Linked DNA regions of Homo sapiens: regions 2, 3 and 4 are each linked to region 1. The links are contacts of gene promoters, found by promoter capture Hi-C in blood cells and fetal thymus (Javierre and others, 2016). All regions are on one chromosome and are shown on one strand. The core of a region is centred on a gene start or on the middle of the fragment in contact, and the rest is flanking DNA. Distances in the headings are between cores, read along the strand shown.

Region 1 (3,765 bases), core at 570-3,069:
TTTTAAAAGCTTCCAAGTACAGCCAGGGTTAGAAGAGTCTCAAGTAGTCACTATAGTATAGTGATCAGGGAAGGTTTCACGAAAGAGAGCTAGGTATTTGGTCTTGAAGGACCAGATGGATTCAGAGGAGCTAAGGGTATTCCAGATGAGGTATGGCATGGAGTGGGTGGGAAATGCCAGGAGAAAAAGAGGACATGGCAGCAAAGAGTGTTTTAGAAAGCAGGCAATCCAGATTTCTAGATGGAAACTCCTAATTATTAAATGCTGAGGTCTGTCAAAGATGAAACTGGAGGCTGGACACACCAAATATCTGTATGACAGAGCTGTACATCTAGACGGTGGACATCTAGCATCCCTGTCTATATGCAAGTCAGCTGGCTGCAAGACCACGTGCTGCTGAAAATCTCACTGTGGTCATGACAGTCCACCCAGTGGCTCAGACCCTGAGATTCTGTTCACACTTCCTACACTCTTCCTTACTCGTCTGTGTTCTTCCAACTCCTCATCTTGCCTAATTCCTCAGGCAGCACCTCATCCTGTAAGTCTTCATTTCCAGGCTTAAGAGATGTCAGCCATCTGTGTCTTTATTGTACAGCCAGCACAAGTGAACACTTGAACACAGGCATCCCTGCATTGTTGTTCTGAACCTTTATGTGTATTAACAACTAATTTCTTGGTGATGACTGACTCATGAGGCAGAGAATGATGTTGAGGGATGAATCCAATTGACACTGGACATGTCTCCGGAGCCAGGACTGAACTGAATTCACAATAAATAATGTAGCCTCGGGGTACCAGAAGGGAATGGATTCACCCTCTGAGAGCTACAAAAGAATTTTAGGAAATTCTCATCTCCCTGGCCCTTCAGACAGTGGTCATTTTCTTGGTCTTCCAAGAGAATGACAAAGTTTCAGAAAGCCTATCTGAGGAAGGTGAAGGGCAGTGAGAGGGTGCACGGGTGGAAAAGCCCTCTCAAGAGTGACGTGGGCCTTCCCCTCGAGCTCCCCAGATGGGGCGTCCCAGATGGCACCAGCGCAATCTTGTTCTCAACCAGGATCCCGGACAAAGACCTAGAGATCCAAGCCGACGGCAGGCCAAGCTCTGGCCCGAGACTGAGGCTTCTGCTTCTCAGGAGATGAGAGTTTAACAATAACTTCGTGGATTTCAAAAAGAAGAAAAAGGTCTCAGGGCACCGGAAAAGGTGTATTCGGGTTGAGGGCGTGGGCTCAGAATCGGGTCTACCTCGTACGGGATGTGAGACTTCAGGCAGACTGCTCGGCCTTTTCAAGGCTTTAAATGGAGCTAAAGGGTATACGACATGACGTTCGCCCGGTGTTTAGGAATATGGGGCGTGACTTTCCAAGCAGGCGGCTGGAGCCAGGGAGACCACAGGCCGCTGCAACACAAACCAGCACCTGAACAAGCTTGGTCAGCCAGCGGTACACCTCCGCCAACCCCAGAAGCCGAACAGATGCGCCCCGAAACGTCATTTCCGCGCGCCAAGGGGCGGGGCCGGTACCGGGTGCGGAAGTCGCTCCAGGGGTCACTGGGAAGTGTAGTTTTCGAGACAGAGGCGCTCAGAAGGAGGGTCACAGTAGGGCCAGGCACTCTTCTCGGGAGCTCCTACGTGTTTTATGCACGTGGTTAAGAAAAAAGAGGGAGAATTCAGGTGCCACAGTGGCCATTCTCCGGTGACCGGAGCGTGTTACTCAGAAACGGATCCGTCAGAGGCCAATGGGAGCTGCCGGCCTTCAGGGCGCGCCTGGTGGCGCCGAGCATCCTGGGAGGTGTGGTCCGGGCGCTGTGCCGAGGATTCGGGGTAGTGTAGTCCTGGCGCCCCGCTGGAGGAGCTCCCCAGCTGGTGGCTGGAGCGACCCCTTGTTCTTTGGTGGCGCTGGTGAGTGAGGCTCCCGCGGGACCCTTGCCGCAGCCGTACCCTTTTCTGCGCGAAAAGGAAGGTCCCGAAAGGCTGGACTATGGGCTGAATTTGGGGACCGTGCGGGTGGCGCGGGGGTGGTGATTGTGGTGGGAACGCGCTGGCGTGGCGCAGGCCGTCCTCTCCCAGATGTCTTATTTTGGGGGTGTGGGCGTGCATCTCCAGGGGAGTTGGGTGAAGCCCATCCGTGAAACTGGATGGTGATGAGTGGGGGATCGGGCTCTCTCTCCTAGGGTTCTTGTGGGTGGGGACAGGTTCGGCTTTGGCTGAAGTCGGGTATTGGGAAAGGGAGTCGCTGATGCCATAAGTCCCCGGTTTTGGGGGAGTTGAATAAATAAGCTTTTTGGGGGAATGGTATTTCCCAGGTGGTGGAATGGGAACCATCCCTGGGGCCATGTGTCCCCGAGGCATTGGTCGGTTGAGGGCTAGTCTCTTGGGGCCACACTATTCTTCGGCTTTGCTGGAGTGGAATGAGGAGCGGTCTGGCTTGACCAAACAAGCCAAGGTTAGACTGGATCTGGGGTGGCCATTTTGCCGCGATCTTAGGGTTTCACTTTGGTTGGTCACCCCCGGGTTCGGGCGTTGGAGGAGGAAGTCTGGCTGGGACGCACAGGACAGGTTTTTTCCAAAGGTCCCAGGGACCGTCATTGATCGCAAGAATTACGGATTCCCAGGCCCCTGGTGTGGCCAGGCTTTGGGATTTTACATTCCATTTAAGTTTTTATTGCGGAGAAATTTCAAACAGCCAGAAGTAGATAGAACTCTATAGACCAGATCTCCATCACCCAGATTCAACACTTAAAACCTTATGACCAATCTTGATTCATCTCAGAATGGACACAGAGAATCCTTGCAATCCAGAGTTCACCGTCACTGCCCTTACTGTGTAAGAGCACGGTCTCCACAGCCACATTTCCTCTAGGCTCTGTCACTTTATAGCTGTGTCACCTTGGGCAAGATGCTGACTTCACTGTACCTCAGTTTCCTCGATTTTATCCTAAAGAGGATAATAGCATCTATCGTATTGGGTTGTTGAAAGGATAGAATGAGGTGAAACTCCTACAGTGGCTGTAACAGTCTCTGGTGTATACTAAGTGTTCAGTGAATATTACCTTTCATTAATAACAGGCACAGAGAAGGTCGCTTCATGCTCAGCGTCAACAGCATATCAGGGCAGGTCGTGCTTTCAACCTGTACCCCAGCTGTGTTCCCAGGAAGCTGCCCGCAGTTCTTTTCTCCTTTTCTTCTGTGGCAGGTTCATTCCTGATGCTGTTAAGGAATAGGAGGTACTGCCCTGCTGGAGAGGATTTCCCTTGATTTTCTTGAACGCTTTTTGTTCTTGTTCTGCCTCCCTGTGGCTCCTGTCTGCCCAGAGAGGACTGCCTGCTGGGGAAAGGGGGTACTCCTGAGCTCCTGACAGCCCAGCTTCAGGTGGGTGCCACTTACCTTTTGCATTTCGAACCATGAGTGGGTTTCTTTTGCTCAGCTTTGACGTCTGTGTTCTACAATGTCCCATCCAGGGATCAGGGCCCCAGCTGGTTCCTTCAGGAAACTAGGCTTGTTTTAAGAGTGATCATTTTCACAGGGAATATTTTTCAGAGCTGATGCTCTCATTCATTACACCTATATTCTTCCCCTACATTCCTTCTTTCAGTATTTGTTCAGACTGCTCATTCCCAGGGCTTGTCAGGTCCTGTGAAGTTGTTAACATTCTGTTCTTCTGTCTTCCAATACTCTCACTTACTCTTTTCCCTGCTAGAGTTTTGGCAGCAAATCCCAGTTATATCATTTCACCTGGGAACACTTCAGGAGGCATCTCTAACACATAA
Region 2 (3,765 bases), core at 438-2,937, 4.6 Mb before region 1:
TGCAATGGCACGATCTCGGCTCACTGCAACCTCTGCCTCCCGGGCTCAAGCGATTCTCCTGCCTCAGACTCCTGAGTAGCTGGGATTACAGGCGCTCGATACACACCCGACTAATTTTTTGTATTTTTAGTAGAGACGGGTTTTCACCATGTTTGCCATGCTGGTCTCGAACTCCTGACCTCAGGTGATCCTACTGCCTTGGCCTCCCAAAGTTCTGGGATTACTGGCGTGAGCCACCGCACCCAGCCACATTTCAGCTTTGTATTCAATTTTTAATATAGTAAATATTAATAGATGTAACCCACAGAAACAAAAGCTTTGGAGTGTTCTCTACTATTTTGGGGAGTATAAAGGTATGCTGAAACCAAAAAGTTCGAGAACCACTGATACCATTATTATAAATATAACCTATGTGGTTTTATTATGTAACTTGGGGCTTTTTTTCTTTCTCTTCTACCACTGACTTCTTAGGGAGGGGCAAGGGGAAGAAGTTTATTACATAGTAAGAATAACAGTTTATTACATAGCAATAGTAACTGAAACCGATTTTGTTACCTAGAAGTAGGATGGATATTATAACAAAACATAACATAATAACATCATAAAAGTAAAACGTGTGGCACTGGCTTTGGAACTAGGTGAAGCAGCAAGAGCAGGAAGGGATCCAAAGTATTAACAAGAGTCTAAAAGGACTTGAGGAAGCTGCCAATGAGGGCTTAAAGGGAGCTAAGGAAGATGTTATTGGAAGCTGGAGAAAATGGGGCCCTTGTTATATAGTGCCAGAAAGTTTGGCCCAGGCATTAGGAAGCAGACATAAACCATCCCCATTGTGACCTTTCTGAATTCCTCACCCGCAGAATCCATCAGCATAATAAAATAGTTGTTCTTTTGCACCTTTAAAGTGGATTTTTACACAGCAATATTAACTGGAACCAGCAGGAATAAAAGAAAGATGTTAAAGTTTTAAAAAGACATAGACATGCTCCCTTCCATTTCTTAGGCAACATTCTTCCTGGAATTTAACTACATTGTAATAATCATCTCCCAGTGCTGCTCTGTATACTTTTGTCTTGGGTATCACACCCAGATGCCACACAGGCCATCCTCTGGTAGGTGAATACTGCTCAAGTAAAAGTAACAAAATTCTTCGGACCCTTTTTTTTATTATTATTATTGAGGCAGAGTCTCACTCTGTTGCCCAGGCTAGAATGCAGTGGTGCGATCTCAGCTCACTGCAACCTCTGCCTCCCCGGTTCAAGTGATTCTCCTGCCTCAGCCTCCCCAGTGGCTGGGATTACAGGTGCCCGTGACCACGCCCGGCTAATTTTTGTCTTTTTAGTAAAGATGGGGTTTTGTCATGCTGGCCAGGCTGGTCTCGAGCTCCTGACCTTAGGTGATCCACCCATCTCGGCCTCCCAAAGTGCTGGGATTACAGGCATGAACCACCATGCCCAGCCCAGACCCAAGTTTTAACATTTTTAACCTGCATTGGGTACAGTAACAATGAGATCCTTTGAAATATTAATAACGAACAGTTGTAATATCTATTTGATTAACTCAACATGTTAAATTTGAAAGGAAAGTCTATACTAGTAAATCTCCTTCAGAAAAAATCTGGTTGCCTCCCTCTTCCTGTTCCCACCTCTCCCAAACCCGGAAAAGCAGCAAGCTGAGGAATTACTTCCTTTATCTCAAATAATCATGTCTGCTGCATCTTGATCTTTGTACTCTAAGTAAGCCCCCTCTGTCCTGGTTCCCTGGGGGTCTCCCTTTGTTTTGTATTCCTGGAAAACTATTGCTTTAACACATGTGTCAGAAATGTAGCAGAACAATAGTGATAGTTTTCAATTGTTGTGCCGCAAGTTAACACCAATTCACCTGCTTAAGACAACACAAATGTAATATTTCCGTTTCTGTGGATCAGGTGTCCAGGTCTCTGCTCAGATCTCAGAAGGCTGAAATCAAGGTGTCAGTCAGAGCTGCCATCTCATCGGATGCCCAGAGCGATTCTCCAAGCTCATTCAGGTGATTGGCAGAATTCAAATCCTTGCAGCTGTAGAGCTGGCCACTTTTGTCTTCTTCAAGGTCAGGAGGAGCAGTCCTCTCTGACTTTTCCACCTTGAAAGGACTCAACTGATTAGGTCAGGTCCCCCAGGATAATCTCTCCTTTGATGAACACAGAGTCAATGATTCGTCGTCAAGTTTCAGGAGGGATGGCCATCATATTCTCAGCTTCCATCCACACTCCAGGGGAGAGGATCATACAGGGTCTGTGCACCAGGGGTAGAAATCTTGCAGGTCATCTTAGAATTTTGCCTACCACGTGGAAAAAAGAAAGTTTCAATTATAGATGGACTGCGACAACCCTTCAAGCAGTCCTATGGTAGACAACAGTTGTTTCGCCTGCCCAGCATGAATTCCTTCTTATTTCTCCTAACAGCACCCCACTTCACTTCCAGGGACTGCCCTTCACCACTTGCACCCAGCGTAAGTGGGACTGTCCATCAGGATGCTCCGTGGGATGATCAACTGACCCATGCTAAGCTAAAGCTGCTTCTTGCCTGGAATTTGAAAATTGACAGCAATAATGCAAAGAGTAAAAGCAGTTGTTTATTCAACCAAGGTTACAGAGTTCCCTGTTACTGCTCCAGAGCTTGTATTTTTCCAAAACCTGCTTCCTTAGTTTTTCTTTCAATTATCTTAGGTACTCCCTATCCTTCCAACAAATTCCTTTTATCTTCTTTAATATATAAAATTTTGAGCAAGACAAATAATCCAGAGATTACTTGACTCCCATGTCAAGCCCTGATGACAACACATTGTCTTCGGAGCCCTGACGAAGACTGGTAAGATGAAAGGTGGCCCACCTGCCATCTCTGGTTTCATCCTTGTTGTCTGTCAATTATCTGGCCAGCTATGTTGTCATCCCCCATTCATAGGGCAATATAAATATTCTTCCTGCACAACAAACTGTCTGACCAGTTTGTGATTTAACACCTTTCTCTGCAATCTCTTAGCTTTTTTATTGTAACATGTAAAGAGTGTCCCCCCATTCTCATAAGCTTGTTATAAACATGAAATACAATTTGCTGAACCAGAACCAGTGTCAGCTTCTCAATCACTTTTTCCTAACCACCTTATTTTAAATTGCAATCACACTACCCTGCCTGTTCTCCTTCCTGTTTTATCTCTATCAGTAGCACACACCCCAACTAATCCTCTACAATTTTCCCCATTCTTTTAGTTTATTAATCATCTCTCCTGTAAAGTCAGTTCCATAAAGATGGGGCTATCTTTATTTATTTTTTATTTTTTATTTTTTTGAGACAGTGTCTTGTTGTAGCACCCAGGCTGGAGTGTAGCGATGCTACCATGGCTCACTGCAGCCTCAAACTCCTGGGATCAAGCCATCCTCCTGCCTAAGTCTCCCAAGTAGCTGGGACTACAGATGTGAGCAACTGCACCCAGCTAGAACAGAGATTTAAAAAGAAAAAAAAACATTTTATTGATGTTAAACATAAATACAGAAAAGTACAGCTTGATGATTCTTCATATAGTAAACACAGTGTGTAACCATTCCTCAGATCAAGTGAAAAAAATCATGACCTCGCCCCAGGGTAATCCTGACATCTAACATCACACATCCATTTTCTCTATATTTAAACATTATATGAATGGAATTTTACAGTATGAAAACTCTTTTATGTGTATTAATGTCACACGTTGAGATTAGTCCACGTTGGATGTTTATTCTCCTTGCCATGT
Region 3 (3,765 bases), core at 775-3,274, 3.3 Mb after region 1:
GCATAACAGGAAGTCTTGAGTAGGTAGTCGAGGTTGGGTAGAGGACACTTCTGTTTCAATTCTACATCCCTAGGGCTTTGGAATATGAATGATTCATGTTGCCTTGTGGTGGCTAAATGGCTACCGTCCCCTGTCCCTGGAGGCCTCACAATTCTTTTCCAGGTAGGGAGAAGGGGGAGAAGGGTGGAGCACACTAAATGGCAAACAAATGTACCAGCTGAGTCTGTGTGTTCATCTGGAATGCAAAGCTTTTCTGGAAGCCTCTCCCAGCAGACATCTCGCTGGCCCAAACCAGAACCCTACCCTATGACCACTGCTAGCTGCAAAGTGGCTGGGGGACAAGAGGGTATTTTTGGAGTGGGCTTGCTCAGGCAGGTAACAAGGCTACTGAAGTTAGTCATTAAAACCTTCTTTTTTTTTTTTTTAGACAGATTCTCACTTTGTCACCCAGGCTGGAGTGCAGTGGTGTGATCTCTGCTCACTGCAACCTCTACCTGCTGGGTTCAAGCAATTGTCCTGCCTCAGCCTCCCGAGTAGCTGGGATTACAGGCGCCTGCCACCATGCCCGGCTAGTTTTTTTATTTTTAGTAGAGACGGGGTTTCACCATGTCTGCCAGGCTGGTCTTGAACTCCTGACCTCAAGTGATCTACCCTCCTTGGCCTCCCAAAGTGCTGGGATTACAAGTGTGAGCTACCACGCCCCGCCCATCAAAACCTTCTTAAAGGGGCACACATCCATATAATGCCCCCCAACTCCACACACCACTGTCTCTCCAGCAGTCACAAGCTGGAAATGGAGCTCCACCCTTGTGGCAGGGAATGCTTGTGCATAGGCCTCTGAACAGCCAGCCTATGCCTACCATCCACGTCCCAGGTCCTACTTCTAATAACTTCCTTTACAATGATAAATCCCTTAAAGATGGGAAAATTCTCATATCTCAATCTATTTGCAGGTATACCATACCTTGAATTTTGTTTGTGCTTAATATATATTTGCTGATTTTCTGAAGTGATTGAATTCTTTTCCTCTAAAGACAATTCCAGACTGTTCCAGGGGTGAACCTTGGGAATGGAGAATGGGAGCACTTCTTAGCTGGATCTTAGGAACATTGGAGTTTTCTACCAGATAACACTGAATGACATTATCTTTCTGTAAGTTCTCTGTTATGGCTGGTGCTTTAAGCTCATGCCTCTCCCTCCAGCCTCCATCTCTTGCTGGGTCTCTGTTGGCAGGTGTGTACCCAGGTACATCCAGTAGCTGAGTTGGTGACAGAAAGAACTGAAAAAACACAATCTCCAGCCTCCACATGATGAAAATCACAGGGTTGTTTAAATAGAGGGGGCTATTAATATAGATTTGTCCTTTTCTCCCTCCTTCTGCTTAATCATTGTCAGGAGGGCGGTAGAAAATAGTCTGCACACCAACAAGGCTCTGGAATAACTAATTGAATACTATAAACTTCCACCCAGGATTACAAGGAGGGACAGTTGCCTCTCCAGGGTGCTCATTTTGTTTCCGGATCCTGGCACAGGTTGGTCCCAGGCTCCTCTGCCGGGGCGACTATGTCCAGGGCCTTTGGGAACCACGGGCTGATTTGTATGTTCTCATTGTAACAGTTTCTGAAGCCTCAATTTCTGAGGTCTTCCATGGCACACTATAATTTCAGGATTGACAATGATGCTGACAAGAGTGAAAAGAAAACATATTTAGGGAAACAGGAATTTCTCTCAACCTTTATTTTGACATTCAGCAGTAGATGATGGATGTTTTAAATTACTCTTGATAAGAAGCTATCAGTAGGAGTTATTTTGTTTCACAGATACCTGGCAGGTCAAAAACACACTCAAATTGAACAAATATTCTCAAATTAAGTACGGGGAATAGTAAGGCCGAGTAGCTCATGCTGCAGAGAGGAAGCACATCTAAAGCTACAGTGAGTGCTCAAGGGAGCAACTCCTACATCATTTCCACAAGAAGCAAAGAAGAGACAATGGCTGGGAGTCAGAATGGAAATTAGGTGCTTGCTAGTTTAATCTGGAGAGCTGGAACTGACTTAAGGAAGAGGTGGAGAAAACCTACCACCCGGGCTGTCGGGAAGCTGGGGAGCTTGGACTGAAAGAACACGTTGTTTCAAGGACTCTTCATTTTCAAATGTCTTTCACAATTTACTTAATCTCTCCGAGGCCTTAGTTTCCTCATCTATAAAATGGGCTGGTAATATCCTCATTGTTGCTGTGAGGGCCAAGGAAGTGATGCATATGAAACTGCTTTGAAAACTGTGATGTACTCAGCTACGTGGGAGACTGAGGCTGGAGGATTGCTTGAGTCCAGGAGTTTGAGGCCAACCCAGGCAACACTGAGAGACCCTGTCTCAAAAAACAACACAAGAAAACAAAACTGTGATGCATCATGCAGCTGCTTTTCTTTGGATAAATAATATTTGCTAAGTAAAGATAGTAGATGTTCCTCCTTTGCAAACCATTTTCAACTTCTAACACAGCTATTAGAAGTTGTAAGTTACATATATAAAATTTATATTATTTGTAAATAATATTCATTGTGCAAACATTTACTGAGCACCTCTGTGTGCCATGCACTGTGCTTGGTGGCAGAGATATAAATCCATTGATAATTTTCTCACTGTAAATTCCTACAAGTTCTTTCTTTCTTTTTCTTTTCTTTCTTTCTTTTTTTTTTTTTTTTCTGTGACAGGGTCTTATTCTGTCACCCAGGCTGGAGTGCAGTGGCACAATCATAGCTCACCGAAGCCTCAACCTCCTGGGCTCAAGTGATTCTCTTCTCTCAGCACCCGCAAGTAGCTGGACTACAGTAGGGGCATGCAACCATGCCAAGCTAATTTTTGCATTTTTTGTAGATGTGGTTGTGCCATGTTGCCCAGGCTTGTCTCAAACTCCTGGGCTCAAGCCATTTACCCGCCTTGGCCTCCTAAAGTGCTGGGATTATAGGCAGGATCCACCACGCCGAGCCCCTATAAGTTATTTCTTTAAAATTATTGGGTTTACATGGAATACTATGCAGCCATAAAAAAATGAATTCATGTCCTTTGCAGGGACATGGATGAAGCTGGAAACCATCATCCTCAGCAAACTAACACAGGAACAGAAAACCAAACACCACGTGTTCTCACTCATAAGTGAGAGTTGAACAATGAGAACACATGGACACAGGGAGGGGAACATCACACACCGGGGCCTGTCAGGGGGTGAGGGCAAGGGGAGGGAGAGCATTAGGACAAATATGTAATGCATGCAGGGCTTAAAACCTAGATGATGGGTTGATGGGTGCAGCAAACCACCATGGCACATGTATACCTATGTAACAAACCTGCATGTTCAGCACATGTATCCCAGAACTTAGAGTAAAATAAAATAAAATAATTTAAAAGATAAAGTTATTGGGTTAAAGTAAGTGCAAATTTTAAAGATTTTTTATGTGTATTAACCAAATTGATTTCCAGGAAGAGCTTACTCTTTCATAGTTTATGAGAAGTGTTGGTTTTTCTGCCCTTTTGACAACACAGGGCATCATTTGAAATTTTTGTGCTGTCCTGGTTTATTATTTTAATTTTCATTTATTTTGTTGTTAATGCAACTGGATTTTTAAAAAATGTGCTTAATGTATTTTACTATTATAATCATATTAAATTAGTGTTTTGTATAAAGCGCCCACAGCAAAACCAAGCAAAAAAGAATATTGTCCTGTCTCTTTCTTCTACTTGCTGGATCATGATTCTCATGAGTGGA
Region 4 (3,765 bases), core at 1,266-3,765, 3.0 Mb after region 1:
GTGGTTCCAAACCACAGTGACCCCAACTGGAGACTTTTTATTTGATTTCTACAAGAAAAACCCATACCAAGCCTGAGTCTGACAGGCTTTACTGGACACATTGGGCCAGGGAAAGTGTCACAATACTTAGTCCATATCCTCCTGCCGCCTTTCAAGTTTCTTCTCTCTTTTACCCACTCCTTCTCTGAGTGCCAAAACTCCAATTTTAGTACTTCTATGCAAACCAATTTCACCACCCAGGTGAATTAGCTTGCACTCCCCAAATTTTGTTACTGGACTCTTTCCTTTGTAAGGGATAAGAATTTAGCCCAAGCCAGCTTAGGGCAAAAGGAAACTTTTGGCTGGGAGTGGTGGCTCACACCTGGAATCCCAGCACTTTGGGAGGCCAAGGCGGGCGGATCACAAGGTCAAGAGATTGAGACCATCCTGGCCAACATGGTAAAACCCCATCTCTACTAAAAATACAAAAATTAGCCGGGCGTGGTGGCGCACATTGGTAGTCCCGGCTACTTGGGAGGCTGAGGCAGGAGAATCGCTTGAACCTGGGAGGTGGAGGTTGCAGTGAACCGAGATGGTGCCACTGCACTCCAGCCTGGCAACAGAGTGAGACTCTGTCTTAAAAAAAAAAAAAAAAAAAAATTTGGCTCACAGAATCAAAGGACAGACTTAATCAAACTGCAGGAAGAGAGGGATTTAACTGGAACCAGGGAATTAACCCTGCTTCTCTCATTGCCTACTGGCAACAAGTCCCAATTCTTATCTTTTAGCGTTCACGCACTGGAAAGATGCAGTCTTAAATTTCTTATGGTTCAAAGCTCAAAAATGCTGGTAAGGCTGGGTGCAGTGGCTCACACCTGTAATCCCAGCACTCTGGAAGGCCGAGGTGGGCAGATCACCTGAGGTTAGGAGTTCGAGACCAGCCTGGCCAACATGGTGAAACCCTGTCTCAACTAAAAACACAAAAATCAGCGGGGTGTCATGGCAGGCGCCTCTAATCCCAGCTACTCGGGAGGCTGAGGCAGGAGAATCGCTTGAACCCGGGAGGTGGAGGTTGCAGTGAGCCTGGATCTTGCCACTGCACTCCAGCCTGGATGACTGAGACTCCGTCTGAAAAAACAAAAACAAAACAATAAACCCTCCCAACCCGCCAAAATGCTGGTTAAGGATTCTAAATGGCTCAACTTGGCCAGCTGTCTATCCCTGAACTGCCTATGGTGTACATGTTCCTATAACAGCACCTCCCAGGGAAACCAGAGGGGCTGCTTCCAGGTAAAAGGAGGAATTTCACCATAGACATAATACTTTGGAATAGTTTTGGCTATCCTTAAGTAAAACACGGGATGACTATTTCTCTAATTTCCACACTAGTAGTTTAAACAAAGTAGTCATCAGACCACAGAGGAGGGGGCAATAAATACTGCCTGTGAGGTAACTCGGCGAAATACTTTCACAGAGGCCTCATGAGGTGAGCATTTAGCATCGTGTGTGATGTGTGTCAAACCAAGAGGGGATTCAGGGAGACTTCCAGGCTTGAGCAAACGGACAAATATACCTCCTCTTCCAGACCTCTCCTTTCATATGGAAAAAATTCGTTTGGGACCACCAGAAAACAAAAGATAAAAGTATCGTGTTAGAACAAGGATGGATTAAAAATGACCTTTGCTTGAACTGAAACAGAAGCTATGTGCATAAGTGACTTAACTCCTCTGTAACTTGGCTTTCTTATCATTTACACGAGGGTGCTAACAGTACCCTCACAAGGTTCAAGTGAAGATTACATAGGACAATCCCTTAGTCAATGTCTTGGTACACTGTAAAGGCTCAGTAAATGCTGGAAAATCATATTAGCAACTATTTTATACCCGTAATTGTAGCTGGAAGATTGTATTGGATGCTAAATACCGGCTAGATTCCATTCGGTAACTATCATAATTATTTATTTGCATAACAATCAAATTATTGGTGCAAAGCAGCCATTATTACTGTAAAATGCTTTAAAATGCTCCTTTTGATAGTCCAGGTACGTACTGCAGCACAAAACTAGGAGAAACCAGGAAATGGAAGTAACGAGTAAGTTTGGATGCTTCGATTCTACCCTAGATTGAGACGGGTGAGCATAGAGGCAAAAAAAGACATTTTCTTCCAAACAAGAGGTGACCAAACGGGCAAGGGAGACCTCCTCCCGGGCATGCAGAGCGCAGCGATTCTGTGCCCAGGGAGCCGGAGGGCTGGGGCTGGGAGATCCCGGCGGAGCCCCGGCAGAGCAGTCGCCCGTGAGCCCCCGCAACTCAGACGCGCTCGGCCTCGCGCTCCGGGGCTGGGACCACCGAGGGCGAGCTGCAGCCTTCGCCACCCGGTCCGCCGCCGGACTCCGCCTCCCACAAACAGCCCGGCAAGGCCCTTTTCCGCCGCTCCCTCATCCAGCGAAGCCTCCTTCCCAGCTTCCCCGGCGGCGGCGCCGTGACGTCACTTCCGTTCTCCAGCGCGCACGTGGGAGGAAGTGCTGGTGCCCTCTGCCGCTGCTCCCGTCTCTTTGGTTACGCTCGTCAGCCGGTCGGCCGCCGCCTCCAGCCGTGTGCCGCTATGGGAGTCCCGGCGTTCTTCCGCTGGCTCAGCCGCAAGTACCCGTCCATCATAGTCAACTGCGTGGAAGAGAAGGTGAGGAGGCGCCAGGCGGCCGCCACACTCGAGCCCGGGCCCCCGGCACGTCTAGGCCGCGGCCCATGGGCTCCGCCGCCTGCCCCCGGGGAGCCTTGCCGGAGCTCGCGCCCTGCTGCCAGCCTCGCGAGCAGTCGCAGCCCCACACGCGATGGGACGCGGGCTGTGGGATTCAGCACCCCGGGGGCGAGGAATTCAGGACCCTCGGCGGGGCAAGGGCCTATAGGGTTCCGAACTCGCAGGAGGGTCGCTCCTCCCCTACTCGCTTTTTCCCGGCACCGGAAGGCCCCGCCCACTGCTTTGTTTCCTCTCCAGACCGCGCATTTTGGGTCTCGGAAGAGGTTCAGAGGCTGTTGTTGAGCAATGCATGCCAGGTCAGCTGAGCTAGCGGGTTATGGATGCACGGATTCGGAGGCCAGCTTTTTGACAACCTTGTAAAGGAATCCCTGGCGGCGACCTTTTCGTTGTTTACCAATTGTGCCGGAAAGGTTTTCTCCTAGTGTTCAGGACCATTTGTTGTTCTGGTTAGATTGGACGCTGAAAGCAGTATGTCAGGTCCAGGATGAGCGCTATAGAATTCTGAGAAGTTACCCTTCTCTGTGTGCCCTGACTACTGAACGGGGTGGGTGCTTGTTGAAAATTTCAAGATTACTGGATGTACTTGAGCAGTACAATTTTTGTTGTTAGTTAATACGTAAGTAGATTTTTGGCCATTATTGAGTTTTGTTTTTATTGTTTTCGTCATTCCATGCGGATTCGATTTTGTGCTCTTAATTAGAATTTCTGGATTGGAAACGTTCAGAGGCACATCACGCGTACCTCACTCCTTAGTTTTTGAAGGCAGTGCTTGCCTGTCACTGTGAACTTATTTCTGCTTTTTTTTTTTTTTTTAACTTTCTTGGCTTCTATCCAAGGAGGAACCAAAAGCCTTGTCTTAGTGACATTCCCACTATTTCTTGTTTTTTTCAAAAAGCAACTGCTAAATTGAATACTTGTTTCCTTTGTAAAATTTTAATCGAACTTTATTGAACTTTACTTGCACGTGGGTTAAACAAAAAGCAACAGTTCTTGCTCTACCCCTTCTCATCCCATTTCTCCACCTTTAAC

Evidence for each region. Contacts are between HindIII fragments. The CHiCAGO score rates a contact against its expected background, and 5 or more counts as called.
Region 2: a fragment that was not itself captured here is called in contact with the fragment with the promoter of ZNF133 in region 1 in 1 of 17 cell types (naive CD4 T cells); the score reaches 5.0 in naive CD4 T cells.
Region 3: a contact is called between a fragment that was not itself captured here and the fragment with the promoter of ZNF133 in region 1, in 1 of 17 cell types (naive CD4 T cells). The highest score is 5.0, in naive CD4 T cells.
Region 4: a contact is called between the fragment with the promoter of XRN2 here and the fragment with the promoter of ZNF133 in region 1, in 4 of 17 cell types (total B cells, monocytes, activated CD4 T cells and 1 more). The highest score is 12.6, in total B cells.

What each region holds. Positions count from the first base shown.
Region 1 is chr20:18,286,708-18,290,472 of GRCh38, forward strand. It overlaps ZNF133 (zinc finger protein 133), which reads left to right and starts at 1,820. Exons shown (of 7, transcript NM_001352452.2): 1 at 1,820-1,897. RefSeq lists enhancers at 1,393-1,442, 1,522-2,427, 1,533-1,872, 2,433-2,552. The HindIII fragment of the contact is 851 bases long and covers 1,423-2,273 here.
Region 2 is chr20:13,639,742-13,643,506 of GRCh38, forward strand. No RefSeq gene overlaps it. Among named protein-coding and RNA genes, the nearest start is that of TASP1, 2.7 kb to the left of the region's middle. The HindIII fragment of the contact is 2,746 bases long and covers 315-3,060 here.
Region 3 is chr20:21,548,574-21,552,338 of GRCh38, forward strand. No RefSeq gene overlaps it. Among named protein-coding and RNA genes, the nearest start is that of LINC01727, 20 kb to the right of the region's middle. The HindIII fragment of the contact is 3,557 bases long and covers 247-3,765 here.
Region 4 is chr20:21,300,816-21,304,580 of GRCh38, forward strand. XRN2 (5'-3' exoribonuclease 2) reads left to right here and starts at 2,516. Exons shown (of 30, transcript NM_012255.5): 1 at 2,516-2,658. The coding sequence starts at 2,584. RefSeq lists a silencer at 2,214-2,343 and an enhancer at 3,064-3,113. The HindIII fragment of the contact is 6,284 bases long and covers 1-3,765 here.